Regions from separate parts of the Homo sapiens genome. Here regions 2, 3 and 4 are each linked to region 1. Evidence: promoter capture Hi-C in 16 types of primary human blood cells and fetal thymus (Javierre and others, 2016). All regions are on one chromosome and are shown on one strand. Each heading gives the region's core, a stretch centred on a gene start or on the middle of the fragment in contact. The rest is flanking DNA. Distances are from core to core; before and after follow the strand shown.

Region 1 (3,487 bases), core at 758-3,257:
CTGCTCTGTGATGTTCCTTCACTGTCCACCATGGCTGAGTCATGCCAGATTATAAATCCCTTAGGACAGGACCAGCGTCACCACCGCAAGGCACAAGGCACAGGACTGACTCTTTGTGAAGGGAAGGAAAGTAAGTTTCTCTAGATCTGTTCAATGCCACCTCCAGGGTCCTGCAGCAGGGCTCCTAGCTCCCTCAGCCCAAGGACACCTCTCCATGTGATGCTACTTCCCCAGGTTGCTGGGCCAACTGGAGGCTACTCATCCTGAGACCTGTAAGGCCAGACCCAGGCTGGACGAGGCTGGTCAGGGCCTGGCAGGGCAGTGGGGAGCAGCGTGGAATGGTCCAGAGTTCCTGGAGGTGGTCAGGGACAAGACAGCTGGGCCTCTCTGCTGTCATCCCTAGGAGCAGTCAGCAATTACACAGACACAGCTGCTGTGTGATTCAAAGACACATATGCACGTAGACTCAAATACAGAGTTGCTTGAATGTGTTCACAAATATACACACCCGGCCGGGCGCGGTGGCTCACGTTTGTAATCCCAGCCCTTTTGGAGGCCAAGGCGGGTGGATCACAAGGTCAAGAGATCGAGACCATCCTGGCCAAAATAGTGGTGCGCACCTGTAATCCCAGCTACTCTGGAGGCTGAGGCAGGAGAATCGCTTGAACTCAGGAGGCGGAGGTTGCAGTGAGCCGAGATTGAGCCACTGCACTCCAGAGCCAGACTCTGTCTCAAAAAAAAAAAAAAGACAAAAACCCCCCACAAATATACACACCCATGCACCACCACCCCTACCCATACACCACACGCACACTTAAATTCAGAGGGCAAATCCCGGTTCCTCCCTTCATAGCTATGTGTCCCCAAGTTACTTAATCTCTTTGTATCTTAATTTCCTTATTTCCGATCTGTAAAAATGAGAATAATGGTATTCACCTCAATGAGTTGTTGTGAAGATTAAATGAGATAAAATGGTAAAGAGCTTACAACAGTGGCAACACATGCAGAGAGACGCACATGTTTTCATACTCATTTCCCAAGCCCTGCCCAGTACTGCCACTGGCACTGGTGGTGAGCCTGGCAGCAGTACAAGGTTGGAGTCCCTTCATCCCTTTGAGCCTTGGTTTTCTCATCTGTGAAATGGGAATAATAATATCTAGCCGGCGGGGCTGTTTGGAGGAACTAAAGAGGCCCAGCATGGAAAGCTCCTAACCTAACTCTGGCCCACAAAAGTCTCCCTACGTTTTAGCTGTCACTGTCCCTGTGAGGAAGAACAGATCCAAGAACAGGTGCAGGGATGGGCTGCACCACAGCAAAATCTGGACAGGCCCGACCCCCATCTCCTCCCAGGCTGGAGCGGGGCCCTGTAAGGACAGAGCCCAAGGCCACTAGGTGTCAGGCCTGTTGGAGCCAAGTCCGGCCAGCAGTCTGGGGTGGGGCTGGGGGCAGGGCTGGTCGGATGGCCGTGGGTGGAAGGAAAAGAGGAAAACCAGCTCAGTGGAAATTGTCCTGCGGTTGGCTCAGGCGCCCACGACACTGTATTTATAGAGAGCTCCTTGCAGCTCTTAATTCCTCGCAGTCGAGTTAACCCTTTCTGGGCTGTGGTGCCAGCATGGTGTGGAGGAAGAACCCAAGACTGGGGTTGGACAGCAGGATTCCAGCCCTGTTCTGCCGCCAGTCGATGACCAGTCAGTCACCTATCCCCTCTCGCAGAAAGGAAGATTCGGCTCTTGGAAGTGTGGGAACGGGGTGGGGGATGGGCAGCGCCCTGCTCCGGGAGCCGAGGGTTTTCCCCGCCAGGGTCAGGCCTGGGGGCGGGGCGGGGCGGGGGCGGGGGCCAGGCCGTGTGCTCTGCCCAGCGGGCTGGCTCAGGCCTCGGTCAGCAGCCGCCACCGCGGGGCCAATCCGGCCTCAGGGACGCACCGGAGCCGCCTTTCCGGGCCTCAGGCGGATTCTCCGGCGCGGCCCGCCCCGCCCCTCGGACTCCCCGGGCCGCCCCCGGCCCCCATTCGGGCCGGGCCTCGCTGCGGCGGCGACTGAGCCAGGCTGGGCCGCGTCCCTGAGTCCCAGAGTCGGCGCGGCGCGGTGAGTGCTGGCGTGGCGCGGGCGGCGCGGGGTGGGGCGGCCTTTGTCTGCTGCGGGCCGGGCCTGGATCCCGCGGAGGTCCGCACGTTCCCGCTCAGGGCTGCAGGAGCTGAGCAGGGCGCCTTCCCTCCGGGCTCCTGCTCCCCTGCCCTCCCCCAGGTCCGGGCGGCCCCCCTCGCACAGGAGTCCCGGGAACCGCGGGCGCCCCTCCTGCCCTGGGCTGTGGGGCCCGCGGAGAGCTGGGGGCTCCCGGATCCTACCCCGCCCCCCTTTCCTCGGGTTGAGAGGGGCCCGGGCGCCGTCGGACCTGCAGACCCCGGAAGCTGCGGACCGGGCCGGGTGGGTGAATGCGCTTTTGCAGGCCCCGGGTCTGGAGCGGGCATGGGGGCAGATCTGTCCCGTGTTGAAGCTTAACGAAGCCACCGGCCGGCGCTGGGAGGTTAGCGGGGTCTCGGGTCCTGCAGAGGAAAACGCCCAGCTCCGGGAGGGGAGCGGCGGGGAGGGAAGGCGAGTGGTTAGGCGTGTCCACTCTGCAGGGCCCAGCAGGGCGAAGGTGTGGGCGACTGGTGCACTTCCACAGGCAGCCGTGGGCAGCATGAGGGGTCAGATTCCGGGAAGGACAGGTAGAGACGGCTGGCAGGGGCCACGGGGTGAATAGGTGTTGGGGGTGGGGAGGGAATTGGGATGGGCAGTTTGGGCTTGGGAAGCCTCAGGGAGGTGGGGGGTGAGGTGGGATGGAGAGGAGATGCGGGCGACGGTGGAGGGAGGTGGGGACCCCGAGTGGGGGCACACTAGAAGGGAGGGGATTGAATTCCAGCGCCCAGGGCCCTCCCTGCGACCGTTTAGCTAGCGAATTGGCAGGTTTGGCAGCCTAAGGCAGGGGATTTATTTCTAAGCCAAACCTGCTCTAATGAGAAAAGCGTGATAGATGACTCAGATATGGGATCTATCACTGAGGGAAAACATTAAGCAAATAGTAAAGCAAAAAAGATTTGTGTGTGTGTGTGTGTGTGTGTGTGTGTGTGTGTGTGTGTGGCGGGTGGGGGGGTGTTAGTTGTCTTAATTTAGAAAAACGATTTACCTTCAAATTGGATGTGGATAATTGTAAATGAGTCTGATCTCTTCATTAAAGCCCGGGGTCCTTTTCTTATAAGCATGTCTTCAGCAGTTAGTTTCTATATTAGAAAGTAATGAAGCTGCTTTGTCTTTAAGAGAGTTCTTTATTTAGTGCGGCCTCCTCTAGTTCCCTCTGGCCTCCCAGAAGTCCCTAGGAAATCTGATGCTGTGCAGCCTTCCTTGTAGTGTGGGGGACTGCAAATAGGTGGGACAGTTTGAGGCTGAGGGGAACTGAAGTCTAAACTTGAAGTCTAAACCTGTCCGATGGGTTGAGCTGATCTGAGTG
Region 2 (3,487 bases), core at 576-3,075, 440 kb before region 1:
GTCTTTCTAGAAGAAAACTTGTTTCAACTTTCCTGTGTGGGGTGAACAAAAGAGACCTGATCTGTACTCTCTCAGAGAGCCTTTAGTTTAGTGTAAAATACAATACAGTTGACTCCCCAGAACTTAACCACTAGTAGCCTACTGTTGACTGGAAGCCTTGCCAATAACATCAACAGTCTGTTAGTACATATTTTTATGTTATATGTATTATATACGGTATTCTTGCAGTAAAGTAAGCTAGAGAAAAAATGTTATTAAAAAAATCATAAGGGACCAGGTGTGGTGGTTCATGCCTATAGTCTCAGCACTTTGGGAGGCTGAGGCGGGTGGATCGCCTGAGGCCAGGAGTTTGAGACCAGCCTGGCCAACATGGCAAAACTTTGTCTCTACTAAAAATACAAAAATTAGCCGGGCGTGGTGGTGTGCACCTGTAGTCCCAGCTACGTACTGGAGGCCAGGGCACAAGAATCCCTTGGACCCAGGAGGTGGAGGCTTCAGTGAGCCAAGATCACACCAGAGCACTCCAGCCTGGGTGACAGAGTGAGACCCTGTCTCAAAACAAACAAACAAAAAAATCTTAAGAGAAACTATTTATTGTACATTAAGTGAAAGTAGATGATCCTAAAGGTCTTCACCTTCAGGTTGAGTAGACTGAAAAGGAGGAAGAAGAAGAAAAGGGGTTGGTCTTATTGTCTCAGGAGTAGCAGAGGCAGAAGAGGTGGAGGAAATGGAAGCAGGGCAGGAAAGGCAGGCGCACTCGGTGTAACTTCTGTTGAAAAATATCCGCTTATACGTGGACCTACACAGTTCAAACCTGTCTTGTTCAAGCATCAGCTGTACTTCCCTTTAAGACAGGGATCATCCATGATCAGACCAAGTGTCAGAAACCTTAAATTGTAAGAAATCAGTTGATCCTTCCTTATAAATCCTGTGATTGAGAGATTTAGCCGAAGAGAAAATAGTATTAGGTATCTCAAGTATCTCTGAAAAATAATTTTTGTTACTACAGTATTCTTTTCCAGGGGACCTAGCTGATTATAGAGAAAAAATCCTCTGTAAATATTGTGTGGGTACTATTGTTGGATTTTTTAATTAAAATAAAGTAACTTAAAAGAACTATAGAAAATTACCAAAAAGCACTTCTCTGCAGTGCAAATGCTCACAATCAGACAAATTGGCATATGGTCATGTAGACCTACACAAATTTTAATCTGCAATTTGAAGGCAAATTATCAGTATTTTAAAGTAAGAATTTTAATTCAATAAATTAGAATAATTTCTTCAATGGAGTAGTTTGAGGCTCTTTAATTACTTTCTCAAGACAGGTATAGCTGTTTCCTCACATGAATGACAGTTCCTAAAAGCCAACTGTTTGTCTAAAACAAATTCCTTCACAATATTTGTTGAAAACTCTTGATTATGCAGTCTGGTTTTCATTCTAGTGAGTACAGTAGACTGAGCATGTTTGTGGACCTGTGTTGGTCACACAGACCCCAAGACAGAACCTGGAAGCCACCTTTAGTAAAGAACCTAGATAACTGGTTTTAAGCTTTCATCTCATGATATTAAATACTAGACCGCTGGATTTGAGTTGTTTGTGATAAAGTTTGTCAAACATTTCATATCATTTCATATCAGCTTCAAAATCAATGAAGTGTTAATTTTAAGAAATTATAAAAATCAGTATTGTAATCAGTTTATTTTATAGACTGGGTTACACTTAGGATTTATTTAAATGTTTTATGTTTTTATTTCCAATTTTAAAAGATGATAACCTCTAGCATTCTTTTTATTGAGAGTCTCTTAGCCAAAATATACACAGCATTCTTTGATATTTTCTGTGAAATATCATTAGGTCATACCAATATCCACCTTCCATCAATTTCCCTAAAACTCAGTGATTTCTAAAGCCTAGAAAGTTGATGACTAGCTGCCCCATTTGAAATGGCATTGAGAAGAGCCCTGTGTCTTCTCTGAAAGGAAGTTGTGATTATGGTCAGCGATATCAGTAACATTTCAGCAAGAACATCACTGATTTGTCAGATACGTATGCCCTTGCTCTTTTGCCAGTCCCCATCTTCTTTGCACTGTCCTACCCCCAAAAGCTTCATTGTTTGAGAGCTAATTTGACTTACACTGATAGATTTTTATGTGGAGTGGAAAATGAAACTGTACATTCTGGAAGTATTCCTAATTAATGCTATCTCTCTCCAAATCCTTTGTCTAAAGGGAACGTGTTGAGAATACCAGTCACCCAGGAGAGATGCAAGTAACCATTCAAAACCTAATGCCAGCGACCGTGTACATCTTTAGAGTTATGGCTCAAAATAAGCATGGCTCAGGAGAGAGTTCAGCTCCACTGCGAGTAGAAACACAACCTGAGGGTAAGTCTTCCACCTGTCTGTCAGCACCCCCTAGAGGTAGACCTCTCTGAAGTTCTACCTTTGTTTAGCCTTGCACACCATAGGGGAGCAGAAGATAACAGTTCCTTACTTTCGGGGTCCTTATCAATTAGGGGAGGCAAAATTAATTTACATCAAAAAACAGCAAGTAGGGCTGGGTGTAGTGGCTCATGCCTGTAATCCAAGCACTTTGGGAGGCCGAGGCAAGCAGATCACCTGAGGTCAGGTTTTTTAGACCAGCCTGGCCAACATGGTGAAACCCCATCTCTACTAAAAATACAAAAATTAGCCGGGTATGGTAGTGGGTGCCTGTAATCCCAGCTACTCGGGAGAATAGCTGAGGCAGGAGAATCACCTGAACCCAAGAGGTGGAGGTTGCAGTGAGCTGAGATTGCACCACTGTACTCCAGTCTGGGTGACAGAGTGAGACTCTGTCTCAAAAAAAAAAAAAAAAAAAAAAAAAAAAACAACAGCAAATAGTATAAGACAATATACTTCTGTTGGTGCTTTTCTACGTGTTCATATTTTACTGACCCTTTAAGACTTAGCTCAGATGCCTTCTAGAATCTTTCCTCTGATTCTAATATTGTTATCTCCACAGTCTAAGATATTTATCACGTTTTTCCTTCAGTTATGATTATGAACTTACCTTGCTGATTTTGTAGCAAAGACAGAGCCTTTGTCATCCTTACATTTCCCACAGTGTCTAATGTAATGCCTTGCACATGAAGAAGGTATTTAATAATTGTTCTTAACTGGATTGTCTGTCTTTAGGCATACCATGCTCTTTAGAATCTCCTTGAGGCTTTATTTTGGACCTGTGGTCTTTCGTGCTAAATAGGGTTACTTCTAATTACATTTCTAAGATTTTCAGTGACGTGAGTGTCAATCAGGTTTATTTATATTATAAATGTGTTGTATATCTTAAGTTTGGATTGTAAACTAACTATAGGACCGAAATTACAAGCAGCCAGATCTTAATAAATGCTTTTCCTACTTGAGGCTTTTGTCTAGACTTTTGCTTTCTTTTAACACAAATTACTGTTTTTCCTCAGTGTATTCTTTTTTTTTTTTTTGAGGCGGAG
Region 3 (3,487 bases), core at 429-2,928, 420 kb before region 1:
GAAAATTGTTACTGAGAGAAATTAAAGAATACTTAAGATACCATGTTCACTGGTTGGAAGCCGTGATATTACTAAGGTGACAATTCTCCCCAGTGCAGTCCAAGAAAAGTCACAATAGGCTTTTTTGTAGAAATTGATAAGCTGATTCTAATAATTTTTATGAAAAATCAAAGGAACTAGAATAGACAATTTTTTTAAAGAATAAAATTAGAAGACCCATACTAGCTGATTTCATGTCTTCTTATAATTGAGACATAGTGGTGGTATTGTAAAGGAAGATGTTATACATCAATGGAACAGAATAGAGTCCAGAAATAGATCCATATGTATATAGTCAGTTGGTTTTTAGAAAAGCTGCTTAGATAATTTAGTGGGGAGAAGACAGTCTTTTTAACAAAAGTTGTGGGAATACCTGGATATCCATATGAGAAAGAAAAGGAACTTTAACCCTTGTCTTACGCTATATGCAAAAACAGACCTAAATGCAAATGACCCAATGACTTTGGGACAACAATTCTAGAAGAAAGTGTAGGAAAAAATCTTTATGACTTTGGGATAGGCAAGGACCTCTTAGGTTGTAAAACAGCACAAATCATAAAATTTAAAAATTGATAAATTGGATTTCATCAAAATTTTAAAACTTCTACTTTTAGAAACATACCAATAAAATGAAAAGGCAAGCCACAGACTTGGAGAAAATACCCACCATTTAAATATCTGACAAAGAATTTGAGTCCAAAATATATAAAAACTCTTACAACTCAATAATAAGAAGGTAACCCAATAAAAAGTGGGCAGGAGATTTGAACAGACACTATACCAAAGAAAATATATGAGTGGACAATAACCATATGAAAAGATGCTCGGCAACATTAATCATCAGAAAATGCAAATTAAACCCACAATGAAATGCTATTGCACACCCGCTAGAATTGCTAAATGTTAGTAGACTGGCAATAACAAATATCAACAAGGATACAGAACTGGAATGCTCATACTAGCTGGTAGGAATGTTTGACAGTACAACCACTTTGGAAAACAGTTTAGAGGTTTCTTGTAAAGTTATAACCCAGTAATCCCACACGTAGATAATTAAAAGAAATAAAAATACATGTCTGTGTAAAAGCTTATATACAATGTTCATAGTAACTTTATGAACAAGGGGAAATAACAAATTTTCATCAACAGGTAAGTGGTAAATCGTGATATATCCATGGAGTACTACTCAGCAATTAATAGGCTATCAAGACACAACAGAAATTAATCTCATAAACATGCTGACCAAAGACGTCAAACACTGTTATATTTTGTGAATTACAAAATAGGCAGAATTTATCTATAGTGACAAAGCAAGATCAGTGGTTGCCTGGAACCAGGGGTGTTAGGAATCAACTACAAGGGCACCAGGGAGCTTCTCGGAGTATTGGAAATGTTCTATATCTTGATTTTGGTGGTTATGATGCAAGGTATATATATTTGTCAAAACTGTAAATGTACAGTTAAATGGATACATTTTATTATATGCTAATTATACCTCATAGTTGACTTTTTTTTTTTTTTTTTTTTTGAGACAGCATCTCACTCTGTTGCCCAGGCTGGAGGGCAGTGGCGCGATCTCAGCTCACTGCAACCTCCACCTCCTGGGTTCAAATGATTCTCCTGCCTCAACCTCCTGAGTAGCTGGGATTACAGGCTTGCGCCACCATGCCCAGCTAATTTTTGTATTTTTGGTAGAGATGGGGTTTCACCATGTTGCCCCAGGCTGGTCTCAAACTCCTGACCTCAGATGATCTACCCACCTCAGCCTTCCAAAGTGCTGGGATTACAGGCGTGAGCCACTGCACCCGGCCTCATTGTTGATTTTAAAAGCAAAAGAATTTGAGAAATATTTATATTTTATAATAAATAATTTATTTTGTTAGGTATAATTACTTTTCCAAATTGGATTATCGTTATAGATCTTTTTTGAAACACTTGTTTCTAAAATTAAAATCTGCCCTGACCAAATTTTCATTCAGATCGTTTCTTTGTAAACATCTTTTCTAAGAACAACTTCAAGTGCCTAACAGAAGAGTTATATTCATCCTTTCTGTTAAAAAATAAGCTGGGATTTAAATATTCAAAAAAAAAGTAACCTTTAGCTTTTTCCTTACAAGGAAGAAACAGTACAGTTAACCTAGGAAATGTATCCCCCACGTGAACATCTTTTAAGACAATTGTTAGCAAAAGGAAAGCTTTGCTGGTAGAATAAAAATGTCTGGCCAGGCACAGTGGCTCACACCTCTAATCCCAGCACTTTGGGAGGCTAAGGCAGGAGGATCGCTTGAGCCCAGACGTTCAAGACCAACTTGGGCAACATATTGCGACCTCATCTCTACAAAAAATTTAAAAAATTAGCTAGGCATGGTGGTGTGTGCTTCTAGTCCCAGCTACTCGGGAGGCTGAGATAGGAGGATCGCTTGATCCCTAGAGGTCAAGGCTGCAGTGAGTCCTGATTATACCACTGTACTCCAGCTGGGTGACAGAGCAAGACTTTGTCTGAAAAGAAAAAAAAAAAATGTCCCTGTAGTGACCAGCTTCATACTGTTTCCTTTATGCAACTACTGATGTGAAACTCCTTTGCAGTATTGACAGGACATGGTCCTTGATCTTCAGGTGCTTTCAGTCTAACAGAACAAAAAGAAAACACAAGAAACAGTGAAGTGAGTTGAAGTGAATTTTGTTCAGAGAAGGGAGAACGCTATAGCAAGACACAGTAGAGCAGTCAGGGAAGAAACCCCTGAGCTTGAAAGATAGAATCAAAATAGCGTTTGAAATAGAGAGATGAGAGGAGTGCTGCATGTGCAGAAGAGAGTAAGCAGATAGAATTTATTAGAAAATGGAGTGCACATTGCAGAGTAGCAAAAAAATTAATGCAGCATAAAGTAAAATAAGCTTGAGCTATAATTATTGACCTAGATAGATCTAAGATGCCTATGATGTTGAGTAAAAGAAGCAAGTGAGAGGTGGAGAAATGCAGTTAGCAATTCATCTATTCATCATCCTGGAACTCTCCCCTGACCTTCAGATCCATATAAACATCTGCCTACTGGGTATCAGCACCTGGATATATCTCATATTCCATCTGGCCCAAAATTAAAGTTAATGCCTTCTCCCTCAAACCTGTTGATCAATCAGCAAATATTTAATAAACACTTACAATGTCCCAGACACTGTGCTAGAGATAGAGCAGAGAATGAGACAGACGTTCTCACAATTATTAGAAATAATACAATTCAAAAATAATTGAAATTGTTCACGGTGCTGAGGGAGAGAAATGGGCTGTGTAACTAGAGAGGCTAGTCCAGTGTGGAATGAGCCCTTTGAGATGAATAGGCGCTTACCTAGGTAAACAGGAAGAGTGGGATGTGACCCCAGCATAGGGAGCAGCTGCAAGCGAGAAGGCCCTGTGTTGGAGAGAACACAGTGCTCAGTGAACTGATAAGTG
Region 4 (3,487 bases), core at 488-2,987, 400 kb before region 1:
TGTATGTGACATTTATATTGTGTCCACAGTATAATTTTTAAGGCTGTGAGGAAGGTAATTACTCCTTTGTCTTTCTTTCATTCATGTATTCACTCATGCATGCATGTTTTTTTGTTGTTTTGGTTTTGGTTTTTTTTTTTTTTTGAGATGGAATCTCGCTCTGTCACCCAGGCTGGAGTGCAGTGGCATGATCTCAGTTCACTGCAGCCTCCACCTCCCGGGTTCAAGGGAGTCTCCTGCCTCAGCCTCTCGAGTAGCTGGGATTACAAGCGCCTGCCACCACGCCCAGCTAATTTTTGTGTTTTTAGTAGAGACGGGGTTTCACCATGTTGGCCAGACTAGTCTTGATCTCCTGATCTCAGGTGATCCGCCCACCTCGGCCTCCCAAAGTGCTGGGATTACAGGCGTGAGCCACCACGCCCGGGGCCCGCGTGCACGTTTTTAAAGATGCAGGCTCTATGTGACAAGCTGTGGGAGCAAGAGGAGTTAATAACAAACTACCTGATAAAGGGAAAGCTTCCTAGAAGAGGTGCCGTCTAACCCGGATCTTCAAGGATGCTAGAAGATTGCTAAATGTCAAGAAAGGGATTGGACATTCCAGGAAGCAATATCAGCATGTGCAGAGGCATGGCAATATATTAATAAAACAGCCTGCTCTCTCCAGGAGTCACACTGCATAGAGAAAGGATAGAGATTGAGTTGAAAATGCAGGTTGGAATCAGCCTGTCAAAAACTCAAGTACCAGTGCTAAGAAATATGAGCTTTATCCTACAAATAACATGTGAAATATCTGACACCACTGGTACACTATGACATCCATCTTTTATTATCAACTGTTATTACTCTGATAGCAGTGAAGAATAAGTTGGGGGCTAAGAGTATAAAGTCAGGCAAGAGGGGTTAGGGAGCTGTTACAGGCCAGGCGTGGTGGTATGCACGTGTAATCCCAGCTACTCAGAAGGCTGAAGCAGAAGAATCACTTGAACCCGGGAGGCAGAGGTTGCAGTGAGCCGAGGTCACACCACTGCACTCCAGCCTGGGCAGCAGAGTGAGGTTCCGTCTCAAAAAAAAAAAAAGGAAGCTGTTATAGTAGTCCAGATGAGGCATAAAGAAATGGCATATATATTGTCCCTGGTAGGACTGTTCTTTGGCAGCTCACTCTTGCTGTATCTTAGAAGAAAACTTTTGTCCAGCTCATTCGCAAGAGGTCAGATGCGAGTAAATGAGAATTTGTCAGTGAAATGCAGGAAAGAACCACCTCCACCTCTGCCTGCCTCCCATACTTCAGCTCCCCAGCCTCTAATTTGCAATGCCTGCCCTGCCAAGTACCCAACCCTGTAGTTCAGCACTGCTATTAATAACAGTGTTATGGAAAGCCCTACTCTAATATGAACAGTATGGTCCATTTTAGTGGCCCCAGTACCATGGTCTTTCCCAAATATAAAAACATTATTTTATTGAAGGTCAGTATGTACAGTTTAAGTTGTCTGTCTGCTTACCTTTTTCTCATAAATGAAAGATAAAAATGATTGAACCAAATGTAGAATAGGCTCTTAATCCCTTCTAAATCAGCCCCAGATTTAGCACTGTACTTAGATGTAGTCTGTAAAATCAAAGAAGCAAAGTTGGAGGGTCAGTTAATCCGGCGTTGTGGAAGGGATTCCCACAATGAGTGTAAGTTTGGATTAGAACATAAATTTGGGCCGGGCGCAGTGGCTCATGCCTGTAATCCCAGCACTTTGGGAGGCTGAGGTAGGCAGATCACGAGGTCAGGAGATCGAGACCATCCTGGCAAACACTGTGAAACCCCGTCTCTACTAAAAATACAAAAAAAAATTAGCCGGGCATGGTGGCGGGCGCCTGTAGTCCCAGCTACTCGGGAGGCTAAGGCAGGAGAATGGCATGAACCAGAGGGGCGGAGCTTGCAGTGAGCGGAGATTGTGCCACTGTACTCCAGCCTGGACGACAGAGCGAGACTCAAAAAAAAAAAAAACACATAAATTTATAAGCCAGGTTGTTAGGAGAACCACTTCAGGAGATTTTTTCCCCCCTAGACGGAGTCTTGCTCTGTCGCCCAGGCTGGAGTGCATGGCGCGATCTCCGCTCACTGCAAGCTCCGCCTCCCAGGTTCGCGCCATTCTGCTGCCTCAGCCTCCTGAGTAGCTGGGACTACAGGCACCGCCACCATGCCCGGCTAATTTTTTTGAATTTTTTATTAGAGACGAGGTTTCACCATGTTAGCCAGGATGGTCTCGATCTCCTGACCTCGTGATCCACCCGCCTCGGCCTCCCAAAGTGCTGGGATTAACAGGCGTGAGCCACTGCGCCAAGCCAAGAGATTTTTTTTTAAAACACACATTCCAGGCCATACTTTGATGGTAGGAACTTCTTCCACAACATCCCACGCTGGCAGGATGCCTCTTAAGTACTTCCAATAACTAAAGATGCATTTCTTGGCAAGGCAGCTCATCCCATTATTGTACACCTCTGATTGTTAGAAAATTAAGAGAGAGAGTAGCTAGAAGGAAAGAGATTAGATATCCATGGTGGTTAGACATGTGTGGTGGGATTTGCCACATTTTATAATATGAGCATACATAAATAATGAGTAGGGAGGCAAAGAAACATGTTTCAAGAAATGGAAGACAGTAAGACTTAGAGCTAAATTACAAAGCCTAGAGCTCATCCTTTCAGCAATGGGGAAATAATAATAGGAAAAGGAAAAGAAAATCTGAATTTCCTTCTTCAGGGTCCTAAATGGTCCAGCCTCTGCAGCTTTTCCAGCCTTATCCCTTTTTTCCTCCTCACTTCCTTCCTTCTGACTTGCATCTCTCTGCTTAAACAACACTGGCTGCATTTCTCTTCCTTGAGAAGAGCTTGTTCCTGCCTCAGGGTCCTTTCCCTTGTATGATGGAATCTTTCTTACTCAGATCTGAACTCAAATGCCATCTTCTCAGAGAAGCTTTTTCTAACCATTCAATCTAAATTGGCTACCCAGACACTCTGTATCATAACCCCTCATTTTCTTTTTTTCACACCGTTAGTTATTAACTAATAATTTCATATTTATCGTTTATCCCATTCCCCCGCCAAACGTTCACATCTTTGTTGTTCACCATTGCACCTTAGTACCTAGAACAATGACTGACACATAGTAACCATTCAGTATTTGTCAAATTAAGCCATACTTCAGACCTACTGTTTCTTGAAGTTGAACAAGAGAATTAACTCTGCGTAGGCTGTGTATTTATAAAAACAGACTTTACTTTTCATGCAATTTTTATAATCTCAGATATCTGCCTGTTGGGGAAAACTTCTGCTTTGTATGAATGAACATTTTTAAATGGTTTTGAAAACCAGAAAACTAAATGACTTATAAGTGGTGCTTTACAAAATGAGTTTATATATCACATGAGACACCAGAGAGCCAAGACTCTTTATCTGTCTAAGTATATCTCAACCTTTGAAAGCTCTTGAATGTTCAGTA

Evidence for each region. Contacts are between HindIII fragments. The CHiCAGO score rates a contact against its expected background, and 5 or more counts as called.
Region 2: a contact is called between a fragment that was not itself captured here and the fragment with the promoter of CD276 in region 1, in 1 of 17 cell types (neutrophils). The highest score is 8.1, in neutrophils.
Region 3: a fragment that was not itself captured here is called in contact with the fragment with the promoter of CD276 in region 1 in 1 of 17 cell types (neutrophils); the score reaches 7.5 in neutrophils.
Region 4: a contact is called between a fragment that was not itself captured here and the fragment with the promoter of CD276 in region 1, in 4 of 17 cell types (monocytes, M2 macrophages, M1 macrophages and 1 more). The highest score is 10.4, in monocytes.

The regions. Positions count from the first base shown.
Region 1 is chr15:73,682,376-73,685,862 of GRCh38, forward strand. It overlaps CD276 (CD276 molecule), which reads left to right and starts at 2,008. Exons shown (of 10, transcript NM_001024736.2): 1 at 2,008-2,085. RefSeq lists enhancers at 897-1,405, 2,423-2,929 and silencers at 1,789-1,838, 1,959-2,088, 2,099-2,228, 2,389-2,438. The HindIII fragment of the contact is 3,658 bases long and covers 1-2,492 here.
Region 2 is chr15:73,242,115-73,245,601 of GRCh38, forward strand. It overlaps NEO1 (neogenin 1), which reads left to right. Exons shown (of 29, transcript NM_002499.4): 9 at 2,230-2,384. Among named protein-coding and RNA genes, the nearest start is that of MIR12135, 56 kb to the right of the region's middle. The HindIII fragment of the contact is 556 bases long and covers 1,548-2,103 here.
Region 3 is chr15:73,261,645-73,265,131 of GRCh38, forward strand. All of the region lies in intron 15 of NEO1 (neogenin 1), which reads left to right. Among named protein-coding and RNA genes, the nearest start is that of MIR12135, 37 kb to the right of the region's middle. The HindIII fragment of the contact is 1,108 bases long and covers 1,125-2,232 here.
Region 4 is chr15:73,279,223-73,282,709 of GRCh38, forward strand. The region is part of intron 22 of NEO1 (neogenin 1); the gene reads left to right. Among named protein-coding and RNA genes, the nearest start is that of MIR12135, 19 kb to the right of the region's middle. The HindIII fragment of the contact is 2,446 bases long and covers 515-2,960 here.